Linked DNA regions of Homo sapiens: region 1 is linked to region 2. The links are contacts of gene promoters, found by promoter capture Hi-C in blood cells and fetal thymus (Javierre and others, 2016). All regions are on one chromosome and are shown on one strand. Each heading gives the region's core, a stretch centred on a gene start or on the middle of the fragment in contact. The rest is flanking DNA. Distances are from core to core; before and after follow the strand shown. Region 1 overlaps MAGI1 (membrane associated guanylate kinase, WW and PDZ domain containing 1). Region 2 holds the start of MAGI1 (membrane associated guanylate kinase, WW and PDZ domain containing 1).

The links. Contacts are between HindIII fragments. The CHiCAGO score rates a contact against its expected background, and 5 or more counts as called.
Region 1: a fragment that was not itself captured here is called in contact with the fragment with the promoter of MAGI1 in region 2 in 1 of 17 cell types (endothelial precursors); the score reaches 8.4 in endothelial precursors.

Annotation. Positions count from the first base shown.
Region 1 is chr3:65,794,210-65,801,114 of GRCh38, forward strand. All of the region lies in intron 1 of MAGI1 (membrane associated guanylate kinase, WW and PDZ domain containing 1), which reads right to left. Among named protein-coding and RNA genes, the nearest start is that of MAGI1-AS1, 96 kb to the right of the region's middle. The HindIII fragment of the contact is 2,144 bases long and covers 3,087-5,230 here.
Region 2 is chr3:66,035,148-66,042,647 of GRCh38, forward strand. It overlaps MAGI1 (membrane associated guanylate kinase, WW and PDZ domain containing 1), which reads right to left and starts at 3,771. Exons shown (of 23, transcript NM_001033057.2): 1 at 2,849-3,771. The coding sequence starts at 3,161. It overlaps LOC105377128 (a long non-coding RNA gene), which reads left to right and starts at 3,806. Exons shown (of 2, transcript XR_001740440.2): 1 at 3,806-4,051; 2 at 4,905-5,147. RefSeq lists enhancers at 301-1,130, 1,131-1,958, 1,959-2,786 and a silencer at 3,739-3,858. The HindIII fragment of the contact is 5,984 bases long and covers 1-5,015 here.

The DNA.
Region 1 (6,905 bases), core at 2,909-5,408, 240 kb before region 2:
AAAACTTGTGCTCTGTGGAAAGAGGCTAAAAATACAAGCCACAGGCAGGGAGGAAACATTTGCAAGCCACAGACTCAACAAAAGACTGAGACCTAGAATACATAAGGAACTCTCAAAACTCAACAGCACCTTTTCCTCAGTTGCTGCTAAGGCATTTGGTCCTTCTGAGGAAGCTCAGGACCTGTTGGGGTATGGCCTTCTCTTTATCCAGTGACTAAGACTGCGCCCAGCAGCCACTTCCCCAGCCCCCACCCATAACGCAGCCTCAATCTCTGAGCTCACCTGCATCCACTCATTCTGCAGGACAGTGAGGTGATAGTCACAGAATGAAAATCAAAACCCTCATTAAAGCAGCTGGTGTCAATGGTGAACCTTTCTGGCCTAGCCAATGTCAGCCTCAGGAGCCCCCTCTGCTGTGTAGAGCCTAGGGGACCTGCCTCACAACCAGCGATGCCCCAGCAGGAGACCCTATCCCTCCACCCTGCTGTCCTCACTCAGAAAAAAAGAGGGGGCAAAGAAAAGAGAATCTGAGGAGCCCCACGATGACATGGGCCTTGGTCTTTTTGACTAAATCTTTTATGTAATATGTTCAATAAAAAGCTGAACAAAACACAACAAAACAAACCCTCATCAGGAAAAAAAAAAAAAAAACCCACAAACTATCCGGGTATAAGATGGGCAAAATATATAAACAGACATTTCACCACAAAGGATATACAGACAGCAAATAAGCACATGAAAAGATGTGTGCAACATCACTATCCAACGACGCAAATGACTAATGCTAATGAGATACCACCACGTACCTATCAAAACAGGTAAAATCAAAAACAGTGACGACAGCAAACACTAGTGAGGTCACGGAAAACAGTTTGACACTTTCTTATAAAACTAAACAGGTGACTATCATGTGACCAGCAATTGCTCTCTTGTGCTTTTAAATGAGAAAAGGACATTTATGTTCAAACACACAAAAACATTTGCATATTTCATACACTATGAACATGTGCATATGAAATACACAAATGTTCATAGCAACTTTATCAGTAATAGCCAAAACTACCATCAACACAGATCTTCTTCAATAGCTGAGTGGCTAAAAAAAAAGTATGGCTCATCCATACCATGTAACACTACTCAGCAATTTTTAAAAATGAACTGCTGATACACACAGTAACCTGGATGACGCCCTCAGGTGGCTACGCTGCATGAAAACCATAATCCTGGGCTACATACTGTGTCATTCCATTTGTATAACATTCTTGAAATGATAAAATTGTAGAGATGGGGAACATATTAGTGACTGAGAGGGGTTTTGTAAAATATTACCATTGGAAGAAATTATGCAAAGGATACACTGGATGGCCCTGTAGTATTTCTTACAACTACTTGTAAATCTCCAATTATCTCAGAATAAGAAGTTTAACTTAAAATGAAGCCTGCTCTATTTCGGTCTCCAAAGAAACAGAACCATAAGATGATAAGATACACACACACACACACACACACACACACACGGAGAGAGAGAGAGAGATAGAGATTTAAGAAATTGGTCAGGCCGAGGGGTGTGATGGCTCATGTCTGTAATCCCAGCACTTTGGGAAGCCTAGGCAGGTGGATCACCTGAGGTCAGGAGTTCAAGACCAGGCTGGCCAAAATGGTGAAACCCCGTCTCTACTAAAAACACAAAAATTAGTCAGGTGTGGTAGTGCACACCTGTAATCCCAGCTACTTAGGAGGCTGAGGCGCAAGAATTGCTTGACCACAGGAGGCGGAAGGTGCAGTGAGCAGAGATCGTGCCACTGCACTCCAGCCTGGGTGACAGACTGAGACTCTGTCTCAAAAAAAAAAAAAAAAAAAAGAAAAGAAAAGAAAAGAAATTGGCTTCACAGGACTGCGGAGGATGGCGAGTCCAAAATTGCAGAGCTGGCACAGGCCGGGGTCCCAGGGAAGAACTGATGCAAAGACACTCTCCAGGCAGAATTCCTTCTTCCTCCCAGGAGCTCTATTTTCTTTGTCTTTTAAGGCTATTTTCTTTTAAGTCTATTTTCTTTTAAGGCTTTCAACTGATTTGATTGATGAGGCCAATCCCCATTGGAAAGGGTAATCTGCTTTGCTCTGAATCTATTAATACCAATGTAAACGTTATTCTTATCTAAAGAATACCTTCCCAGCGACATCCAGACTGGTGTTTCACCAAATACCTGGGTACCGTGGCCTAGCCAAGTACAAACAAAATTAACCATTACAGCTGCTGTTTCATCTCTTTTCTGCTGGGCTTTTGGTCACTAAGCAGAAAATATGAGGGGAAACGGACACACTGGCTCCCACAGCGGTTGGTCTCTGACATCAGCTATATCTATGTGGGGCAAGTTAGCTATTAATAAGTTTTGCCATGAAATAAAATTAAAAGTATTTATATTCATTTACTTTAAATCTTTTTAAATGCCTAAACCTTCTGAATAATAATATGCTATTCCTAATGCTCTAACCAAGGGGTCGGCATATTTCAACTATAATAAGGTGCCGATAGTAAATACTGTTGGCATTGCAGACCATATGCTCTCTACCCTAACCTCTCAATTCTGTTGCTGTCATGGGAAAGCGGCCTTGTACTATACATGACAAATGGGAATGGCTGTGACCACTAAACTTTATTTACAGAAACAGGCTGTGGGTCAGATTTGGCCTCAGGGCCATAGTTTGAGGATGCCTCCTCTGTTACCAACAAAATTTCAGGTACTTTTCATTCTTTCTCTCATCTTCCAAGGGTGTGATCTTGGATTGAAACTAATCATCTGTATTTTTTTTTTCCAACAGCATTTACTTTTCATCCAGAAAACCTTAGCTATGCCGCATGAGTTCTGATTATCTATTAAACATGAAGCTCAAGTGGTTATTTGCTAGTCACTTTTAAGTGTTTGGAAAAAAATATTAAAGTCCTCAGTCTCTGAGATACAAGGCAAGTCCAATTAGTGCAGACAATGTAAGCCATTATCCAGCTGCAATGGTCTCTTACATTTTCAAAAGAAAGAGTGGAGGCAGGTAAACACTAGCCCAGTAAACATTAAGGATGCATCTAAGGAAGCTTTAATAGGGGCAGGATACCTGTAAAGAGTCTATGACTCACTACATTATTCTAGAATAGATTTTTAATTACTCTGATCTATGTATGGCAACTGCTGCTTCTGATTAAATAGATTTAAAATGAGAAGAAAGAAAACAGAAACCGGCCAGGCACACTGGCTCATACTTGTAATCCCAGTACTTTGAGCAGTCGAGCCATGCAGACGGCTTGAGCCCCAGAGTTCGAGACCAGCCTGGGCAACATGGCAAAACCCCATCTCTACAAGAAAATTAGCCTGGTGTGGTGGCAAAGGCCTGTAATCCCAGCTACCTGGGAGACTGAGGTCAGGTGATCACCTGAGCCTTGGAGTTCGAAGCTGCAGTAGGCCATGATCACACCACTGCACTCCAGCTTGAGCAACACAGTGAGACCCAGTCTCAAAAAAAAGAAAACAGAAATCTAGTTTCTATAAATACTAATATTTTAACCAATATTAATATTTAAGAACTTTGAAGAATCCAGAGCACGGACAGGAAAAATAACACAGATTTCTAGTGGAGATTATTCAATGTATGTTGGGAAGTTTTGTCATCTAAGGATACACTCAAATCTAAGCGTAACCTTGGATTGGACTGTGCTGTACTGTTTATGGGCATTACAGCTATGGAGCAACAGCCCTTGAAAGGAATATAGTTTGTCTCATTTCTAAAATGCATCTTCAATTCTTCACCTTAAAAACATAGCCTTGGCCTGGTGCAGTGGCTCACACCTGTCATCCCAGCACTTTGGGAGGCCAAGGCAGGCAGATCACGAGGTCAAGAGATGGAGACCATCCTGGCCAACATGGTGAAACCCTGTCTCTACTAAAAATACAAAAATTAGCTGGGCATGGTGGGGTGTGCCTGTAATCCCAGCTACTTGGGAGGCTTAGAAAAGAGAATCACTTGAACCCGGGAGACGGAGCTTGCCGTGAGCCGAGATCACACCACTGCACTCCAGCCTGGGCAACAAAGCGAGACTCCATCTCAAAACAAACAAACAAACAAACAAACAAACAAACACAGCCTCAGAAGCACTGAAAATGACAACCCCTCGCCCATTCCATGCCTTTCTTCCTCCCGGGAAACATAAGTCATCAGGACCCATGGAGCAGACATCATTCTGAAAGGCACATCAAAGACACTCTGAAGTTCCAAAGGAAGCCGCCAACTGTAGGCCTCGGGCCAAGATAGGTGTAGGGGTGCTGCCCTTTACCATGGCTCTTGCCTCTTTACCATGGCTTAGGAAGGATGCTCTGGGTTTCCTTAAACTTCGCAGATTCATGCTGATTGCAGTCAAAATAAATATTCCCAGGAGCTTTGTGAACTGAAATTTCCTTTCATGAAAAGAATTTCTAGAAATACTACAGCTACAGTAGTCCCCCCATTATCCACGGCTTCGCTTTCTGCAGTTTCAGTTACCTACGGTCAACCACAGTCCAAAAATATTAAATGAAAAATTTCAGAAATAAACAATTCATAAGTTTTAAATCATGCACCGTCCTGAGTGATGTGATGAAATCTCTCACCATTCCACTGTGTCCAGCTCAAAGGGGAACCGGCCTTTAGGACAGCATTTCTACCCCGTATACCCTCACCACCCATTAATCACATATCGGCCACCTCAGTGAGCAGGTCGACTGTCAAAGTATCACAGTGCTTGTGTTCAAGAAACCTTTATTTTACCTAATGATGACCCGAGAGTGCAAGACTAGTGAGGCTAGCAAGTCAAACAGCCAAAAGGGAAGCTGTAATGTGCTTCTGTTAGTGAAAAAGGTGAAAATTCTCGATTTAATAAGCAAAGAAAAAAATCATATGCTGAGGTTGCTGAGCTCTATAGTATTCTATCTGTGAAACTGTAATGAAGGAAAAAGAAATTCGTGCTACTTTTCTGTTGCACTTCAAACTACAAAAGTTATGGCCACAGTGCATTACAAGTACTTAGTTCAAAAGGAAAGAAAAATGTTTGGGTGGAAGACATCAACAGAAATGGGTTCCAACTGACTGAAACATGTGGCACCAGGAAGCACCGAGCCTATACAAAGACTTCAGCAAGGGATCCCCTAAAATGAGTGACACTAAGTTATTTGTTGCAAGTAGCGAATGGTTGTGCAGATTCAAGATAAGCTTGTACCGAAAAATACAAAAATTACTGGAGAGTCTCTATCTGCTGATGAAGAAGCAGCTGTCACATTTCCAGCAGAGTTGAAGAAGCTGTTGATCTCATTACTGTGCCTAGTTTATAAATTAAATTTTATCATACATATGTATGTATGGGGAAGAGCAAAGTATACTATAGAATTTGGTACTATTCCATGGTTTGAGGCATCCACTGGGGGTCTTGGAAGATATCTCCTGCAGATAAAGGAGGACTACACATAATAAAAGAGCAGCTGACATGTCAGTTAATTGTAGTTTTAAATGAATATGCAAACAAAACTCATATTTATGTGTTTTTTAAAAAATATTTATTTGGGCTGATGTTTCCACAACTTTTGAAAACTCTGTAGTGTATTGCACATTTTCCCCTCACATTAATAATTGTACCCAACGCTTTACATTTAAATATTCTTCAGCTGAGAAGATGTCTGGAAGTTGAAAAAAATAGATAAAACAAGCAAGCATATTATTTAAACACAAATAATGTACCATTTTAAAATAAGTTAATACTACGTTTCCCAATTATTCAGACTTCCTGAAGGTTCCGACTGCCTAATTCCAAGTCTACCACTTACTTTGCTGAATGGCGTTGGGCATGTTACTTTCCTCCCAAGTTTCAGTTTCCTCATCCATAAATGGAGAGCCTAATAATACCTGCTCCATATGGGGTTCTAGTGGCGAACAGGTGACTTAACACATGTAAAGCATTCAGAATAATGCCTGGCACGTGGCAAGCCTTTAGTAAGTGCTAATCCTGATCATCAGCTTCTTTTTCTTCTTCATCATTAATTTGTGGTTCTTACATTTAAAGGTGTCAGGGTAGTTCAATGTAGGAGCAAGCAAAGTTTTAGGGGTGGCATGTTAAATATTAAATATAATCAATCCTTCCCTCCCCTTGGAGTATTTTCTATACACTGAAGAGTATCTTTTAGTAATTGTGAATTTCTTTTTTATCCCCACAAAGAGTTAGAGGGAAACCTTAGCAAAACCAGACATTGTGTATCAGTGAGTCCAATTGTCCAGTCTCATAGTCTTTATAACCCAGCAAACAGGCCCAGTGAACAGGTGCTTGGAAGGGCAGAACATGGACTGCTTCAAACAATCAGAAATGCATCCAATAAGATATGAACTCCCACCATGGGAAATACGTTTTTTAATTAGATTAAAAAAAAAACTGATGTAAGAAATTGGCAAAATTGTTGCTTCTGAAAAGGAGTGATAGCAAAAACTAAAACTAAAAATAAAATAAAATTTTTAAATATGTATCCATTCCTATGGTTTCCAAGTATTTTGATGTTAGCTTCTACCAGGACTGCCTGATATTTTTCTCATATATTTTCTTCCTTTATCTTAGAGTGAATCTATTTGTCACACAGTTTATTGTTCCTGTTAGGTTGGTGCAAAATTAATTGTGGTTTTCGCCATTAAAAGTAATAGTAAAAACCGCAGTCACTTCTGCACCAATGTAATATTTCCCCTGGGATAAAACAGAGTTGGATGAATCAGGTGCTCACAGGCAAATCTCCCTGGAAGTTCCTACTTAGTTCTTCTCCTCTGTCACTTTATATTTATTTGCAAATTGTCAAGCACCATTGGTTTATATTTGAGACACTTATGAAAATGAGAGATAAAGAATAATT
Region 2 (7,500 bases), core at 2,521-5,020:
CAAAGGACTGTCTTCTCCATTTAAAATGAACCAAGTCCAACCTGGCAGATCCATTGAGTTTGATTCCTGCACAATCCAGTCCTGTCACAGACAGTTTTGGTCCATGTATCTTTCCAGAGAACTGCCATGAAGTAGAAAAACAGAATTTTCTCCCACCATGTAGACAGTATCCAGAGTGATCTGTGTCCCTGGAAGTGGCTAACTTGGGATGCAAACAACACAAAAGTAGTATTTTTCTTTACCATATACCAAGTATGAGCCTGCTTGATATGACTTTAAAAGGCACAGTAATGAAGACACATTAAGAGCAATTCTGTCATACAATCTAAATCATATTCTCAACATGGAAGAGGGAGCAGAAAACTGGTGAAATGGTTTCTAGGGCCATCATTACTGGTAATGAAGACGTCAGAAGATCCAACTGTGCCTGTGTAATTATTACATGAAATAGTCACTTTCAGACTGCAATGAATTCCAGGCCATTCAGGTTTCCCAATCAGTATCATATTTCTATCCCATTACAAGTAGATTCACGTACATCCATCCATACATACATATACACACACACACAGAAACATACCCACACACTCGCCCCTGCTGTGAACAATCTGTGCACAAGGGGTGAAGAGAGCTAACACCTGGAGACACTACAGTTTCCTTTCAACTCAGAGGTGTCTGTTTCCAAACCCACTTGATTATCTCACCAAGCCTTCCTAAACTCCATGATGAGAGAGCCCTGGGACATCGCCTCCCAGAAATTTGGCAACTAGTGGAAGGAAGAGACACAAGCCCATGCAGCATCTTGCACACTGCAAACACTGCAAGCCAGCCCCTATTCAGGACCCGTTAGACACTGCGAGGCATCCCCCTAGTTGGGCAGGTACCCTTGCCTGTCCTTCCTCCACCCTTTCTCCAAAATGGTCCTGAACTGAGACCTGCAGCTGCTCCCATCCTATGCCTTCACACAGTATTTTCTCTACAGCCCTATCAAGTCATAATTATCCAGGTTCCTGACACTAAAAACTAGTTTCAGAAATAAATAGCTGCTAAAATCAATTCAAACATAAATAGCTAATCTTTATGGAGCACTTACTATGTACAGGCACTGTTGGGTGCACTTTCCACGTGTTAGCTTATGTAATACCCACAGGAAAGCCAGTGTGAGGAAGACGCATTGTCAGGCCAGGAAAGGTTTTGAACCTCAAGCAAAACCTGGAGAGGTATGCCAGGAATGAGGCACAATCTCTCCCTTTAATGAGCTCACTACCTTGTATGGAAATGAGGACCTAACTCAGAGTTCAGAGTAAGTAAAAAAGCCACAAAGTAGACATTAAAGGAGCCCAAAGGAGGAAGAATTTGTGCATCCTAGCAGGATTCTGGAGGGCTTCTTGGAGGAGGTATCCCAGTGGAGAATGAAGTCATAAATACAAGGAGCTTTCCATAGCTAAGTGTCAGCTCCTCAGCTCCCAAAGCTGCTAAAAGGCCAGGCGAGTCGGCCGCCCCCTCCTCCATTTCATCTGGAGCACGCCTGTTTCCAAGAGAGGACCAGCTAGGCCCAGCCCTTCCTTTGACACATTCCTCCAGCTGCTGCCTGTCCTTATGGAAACACATGGGAACTTTTCACCATGTTCAACTTCACGACTTCCTTCGGTGCTTTCACTGGGGAGAACCTGCGTCATGGCACTTGCTTGCACAAGGGAGCCCTTTAAGGGCCTCAGCTGGTCTCCATTGGGTTGACATGAGGACAGCCCCTTGTCTGTACCAAAGTGAGATGTAAGGGACCTACATCACCAGCAGCCAGCAAATGCATCTTTTAAAAGGCCTCTACAGATTTCTGAGAGAGGAATTTGCTTCCACTCCCTCCTCAGGAATCAGCCCCTTCAGTGCGGTAGGGTCATCCCCCCACTCCTTCCTCCTCCATACTTAAGGCTCTGCAGCAAGGGCTCAAACCCTCGCTTTTGGCAACTGTGTGACCTTGAGCAAGTCACTTAACCAGTATCAATCCCAGTTTCCTTATCTCTAATTTGGGGTATATAAATAAGAACAACTCGTTCTTAGAACTGTTGTGAATCGGAGTGAGATAGTGCAAGTAAAGTATTTTACACAGAGCCGGGCATGTAGTAAACCAACAATGAATAGTAGCTTCATTTTCATCATCAATAATGACGATGATGGTGGTGGTGGGAGGGTAAACTTGGACCCGATTCGAGCTAAAAGCAAGCACCCCTTCCCCCTCTCCCCCTCCCAAGTGTATGGCTGAGCCACACGGTGGAGACACATGCGTCATCCGGCTGAGGGGTGAATGCAGGCTCTTCTGGCGGCGGGCTCAGGAACCGCCAGGCAGTGGTGTCCTAGCTCACCTGGAGGGGTCGCGGGGTGAAGCAGATTTTCTGATGGGGGAGGTCCAATAAACTACAGACCCTCTCTTTCTGTATACCCACTCAGCAGGTATGGAAACTGACTCGTGGCCAAAGAACGCCAGCTGCATCCCTCCCCCAAGGAGCCAGGACAGCGTCCACCATGCCCCTGACTCAGTTCCCCAACTCTCTCTCGGGTGCAGGCGAGACTGCGCTGCACTTAGTGGCGGAGATAACAGGTTGGCCAGCCAGGCCTGAGAAACGTCCCCCCGCTACCTTGCGCAAACCCAGCCCCCTCTTCGAAACGCAGGTGGGCAAACAACCCTCAACCTCGCAACAACTTTGTGTATTTCACCGCCACCACAGGGCGCACGGCCTCAACTTCTCTTCACTGCGCTCCGAGGAGGGAAGCAGGAAATCGAGAATAAGGGGCAGCCCACAGACCACCCTCCTTTTCTCGGGGCGCCCCCCAAAGGCGCGCCCTGCCTTACCTTGTCTGACGGCCTTGAAGGTGACGGCCTCCTTGCAGCTGTCGATGACCCCCAGCACGTCATAGCGGGGCAAGCCGGACACCCGGACCCCCTGCACCTCCAGAAGCAGCTCCCCTTCGCCCAGCCTCGGGCCCTCGCCGCCGCCGGGAAGCCCCGCTGCCTCGACCGCCGCCACCGCTCCGACGTACGGAAACTCCCCGTGCTCCGCGCCTCCCAGCACCGTCACCCCCAGCTCGCCCTGGGGTCCCCGCTTCACGGTGCATTCGTGAACCCTGCTAGTCCAGTGGTTCTTCTTCTGGATCACTTTGGACATGATGAGTTACACCCCTCCTCCAAAAAAATAAAACGAGAGACAGGTGCCCCCCACAGCACGAGCCCCCAAGCCTCCGCTTGTTCATGGGAGAAACATCTCTCCCCAAATCACAAAACAGGAGAGAGAAACTTGGCAGCCTCGCTCCCCTGCACACGCTCGCGCACTCAAGCCATCATAAAACAAACTTTCTGGGCTTCCCCGCGAGCCCCGCACAGGCGCCCGCGAGCTTTGTTTGCATTCCGGTGCCTCTGGGTCCACGTTCCGGCGCCCGCCCGTGCTCTCCCGGACCAGAGTCCACTCTGCGCCGCTCGGGTTATTTTTTTTTCCTTCCTTCCTTTCTCTCTTGCCTTTTACAAATGCGGTGCCTCCTCTTTGCCTCCCGCCCGGCTCGCCTCTCCTCGCTGGCAGGCTGTTACTGAGGGTGAGGGAAGCCCTTCCAGCCAGTTGCCGGGAGCCCTGAAGACGCGGTGGCGGGGCGGCGGGGAGCAGGGCGGGAGGTAAGTGCTCGCGGCCCCTTTAAGCAGATACAAAGGCTCGGCTTGTTTTGTTACAGTTCATTCTATTCCGCGCCGCGGAGCGCAGCGGCCGGCGACAGGAGACGCGCGCGCATGCGCCCCGCGGCCGCCAGCCGGCCGGCCCACCCCTCCCCTCCTCCCCGAAGGGAGAGATTCCAACGTGCTTCCCGATGGGTCCTAAAACCGACCTGCCGGGAGAAGGCAACTCCCCCCCAACCCTTCCTGAACCCCTATCCTCTCTCCTTTTCTTTCAGTGCCCTGGACTCCGCGGATTCCTTTGGGGCTGGAGGGCCGCACACGTGTTTTACTCCAACTGTTTGCAACTTTTGAAACCCGGGCAATCTGGCTTTGGCATTTGAAAACCATTTCAAACAGGTGGGGGTTGGGGAGGCTGCCACACTCACCCTGGCGCTCACACTCACGCACACGCGCACGCACTCGCGCCGGCCCTAAGCCTCCTAACCGCCCTCGGCCAGTGGCTGGCCAGGCTGTCGGTCACCCAGCCCGGCTGGTTCGCCGCCCCCCTTGCCGCAGGTCCCACTGAAACCCCCGAGACCCGCCCCGGGGCGCTCGCCGCCTCCCTGCCTGCCCTGCGCTTGCGGGTTCGGGTCCTGGCGCGGGGTCTGCCAGGGTCTCTGCGACCCGGGGGAGGGGGACGGTGGGATCCTCCGGTTCCCCAACTGGGATCCCTGTGCGGGTCACACGCGCTCTTACACACACCCGCATCCTTAAACTTTGGGACCAACTTTTTAGGACACGGGAAACTACAGGCAAGAGAGAGAAGCCATGGTGCTAGTGTGGGTTCAGGTATTCAACCAAAAAAGAGATCCCTCTAGCTTTTCAACTGCCCTGCCAGCAGAGACTGCTGGACCCAGTCAATCATCTGCCCCGGCCTCAAGTTCCTGGCAGGGCCGAGAAGCCTGCGGACCTACTCCGGGGCCAGGAGATAAGGATCCCCGCCGGGCGCGGACATGCCCTGCGTCCTGGCGCCCGCGGGGGCGTGAGAGAACTCGGAATTCGCAGCCCGGGGGTAGCTGCGGCCTCCGGAGGTCGCCCGGGGGTGCGGATGGAGTGACTTCTGTCCCGGCGAGGTGGCGGACAGAAAGACTCCCATACCACAGGAAGGCTGCCCTTCCCAAATACTCCTCAAATCAGGCTGCTGAGTAGTCTCCCCAGCAGTTTGTTTTCCTCTTTAGTGATGTATAATTTTGTTCATCTTTGGTCACAGGAGAGATTCCAAGAAATGAGGGGGGTACGTTGAAACGATGAAGAAAGGATGGACACAGCAGTCGAGGTTGAGAGGTAGGCTCAGGGGTCCACCCTTGTGTGACCTTGAGCAAGCTTGGTGACCTCCGCGCCTCCGTTTCTCGCTGATCAAATAAGTAGAACAAGACCTCACAGGGTTCTTGGAAGTATTACGTGGGAAAACACTTATAAAGTGGCAAATAATAAAAACTCATTATATTCTTAATAGTAGTATTACTATTTGGGAAGAAAATTGGGAAATCATTTGGGGATTCAAGTTAGTAAGTATGATAATTTATCCTCTCCTTTCTAGAACTTAGAAAATATGGGCATACTTTGTGTGTTTGTTTTTTGATGGTGGTGGTGGTGTTTTTAGAAACGTGGTCTTGCTTTGTCCCCAAGCTGGAGTGCAGTAGCTCGACTAGCTGATTGTAACCTCGAACTTCTGGACTCAAGCAATCCTACCACCTCAGCCTCCTGAGTATCTGGAATTATAGGCACATGCCACCATGCCCAGCTAGTTTTATTTTTTTGATTTTTTGTAGACATGGGGGGGTCTCCCTATGTTGATTGCCCAGGCTGGTCTCAAACTCCTGGGCTCAAGCCAACCTCCTGACTCAGCTTCCCAAAGTGCTGGGGTTATAGATGTGAGCCACCATACCTGGTTTAGGCATACGTTTAAACATCCTTTTAAAGCATTGTAGGGTGCTATTCTAAGCTAATAAAAGTAAGGAGGGATGTTGATGCTTCTCTCTTGGGATATCCAGAACTGAAAATCCCATTGCATTGTTGTGTTTCTGAAAAAAGGAGGTGACCAATTTTCCATGGCTTTGCTTGGTGAGAGGAACTTTGTCTCCAGCTTTTTTTCAGAAGCAATCTAGGTCAATATGAACAGCACTTCAAAACATAAATTATCAAACCCGAGCACAGATCCAGCCAATCAGAATGTCAAGGAAGGGCTAAGTCATTTGAACTTTTAAGGTTCCCCTTATGTGTTGTTGGTACACAACGCTGAGCACCATAGGTTTAGTATCTTGATTCCAAAGCATTGTTTGGGTCCCAGACCTTTTTGTCAAATAAACCTGTGATCCACATCTCTGTGTAAAATAAAAACTCAAGGAGGTCAGGACACTTTGACAGTTTGGTTTACTGATGTATTATTCCCAGTTCCTAGAATGGTGCCTCGTACTAGCAAATGCTAAAATATTTGTCAAATGACTCTTTCCACAAAAATGTACATTTTTACTTTCCATGTTAGTGGGGAGTCACAGATTCCCCTGCAAATCATTAGTAAGCTTAGTAAGCTTAGCCTTGTGTGTTTCCCCACTTTGCCACTTCATATTCTAGTAAAGTGTAATTGTTTGCTAAGAATACCCACAACCAACCTTGAATTAGGAGTCCCCTACCTCTCCACTCAACTCTCACCTCTGCCTGGGGGAGTCCAAGGGCTGGACAAGACCAGGCGTTTTGTGATTCCTCCCAATGCAACAACATCCCCCTCTTGCCAGGATTCCAGGTGTCACCACAGCAGCTGAGAAAGGAAAGAACTTGGAATTTAGCATACGTCAGGTTTTAGATGTGGAAAAGCCCCAAAAGAAGGAGTAGTACCTGTGGGCACAGAGGGCAATATGGAGAGAATAGACATTATTCTAATTCAGGAAAAGGAAAAATAATTTGAACCTTCAAAGTAGCCAAGGCTGCCAGTTTCCAGGATGCTCCCTCTGCATCTTCCCGGCTGGTGTTTCACCTGGTCTAGTTCCTGTGTCCCAGACTGGAGAAGTTCAAGGCAGAGATCATCTCTCTCCTATCCAACCTTTGAAACCTCAATACCAAAAACCATGAACCATGCCTTGTGTGGAGTGTGCACCATACACAGTTGTTGAGTGAATTGATGAAGTGTGACATGAAATTGTTGAATAAATGGATGAAGTATGACATGAAATTGTGTAATATGTGACCTTTGATCCAAAGCCAGTTTAGATTTGGTTGCCAAAACAGGGGTATTTATATTAGGTTGGTGCAAGAGTAATTGCAGGTTTTGCCATTACTTTCAATGAAAAGAGCTTATAGTTATGTCATTGTGAAGTAGATTTTTCCTGAATAGATCTAAGATCCTAGTATTCTGACTTGTCTCACTTTAGCTATGAATTTGGCAATACATTCTGTTGGGAGAAATAATGCTATAAAATACCTAACTTTCAAGCTTACTGTATATGTCAGCGTAGTGATGTGAGTTGGGGGTTTTTTTGTTTGGTTTTTGTTTGTTTGTTTGTTTGTTTGTTTTGAGACAAACTCTCACTCTGTCATCCAGGCTGGAGTGCAGTGGTGCCGTCTCGGCACACTGCAACCTCAGCCTCCTGGGTTTAAGTGATTCTCACGCCTCAACCTCCCAAGTAGCTGGGATTGCAGGAGTACACCACCATGCCCAGCTAATTTTTGCTTTTTTAGTAGAGACAGGGTTTTGCCATGTTGGCCAGGCTGGTCTCAAACTCCTGACCTCAGGTGATCCACCTACCTCGGCCTCCCAAAGTGTTGGGATTACAGGCGTGAGCCATCGCGCCCAGCTGATGTGAGTTATT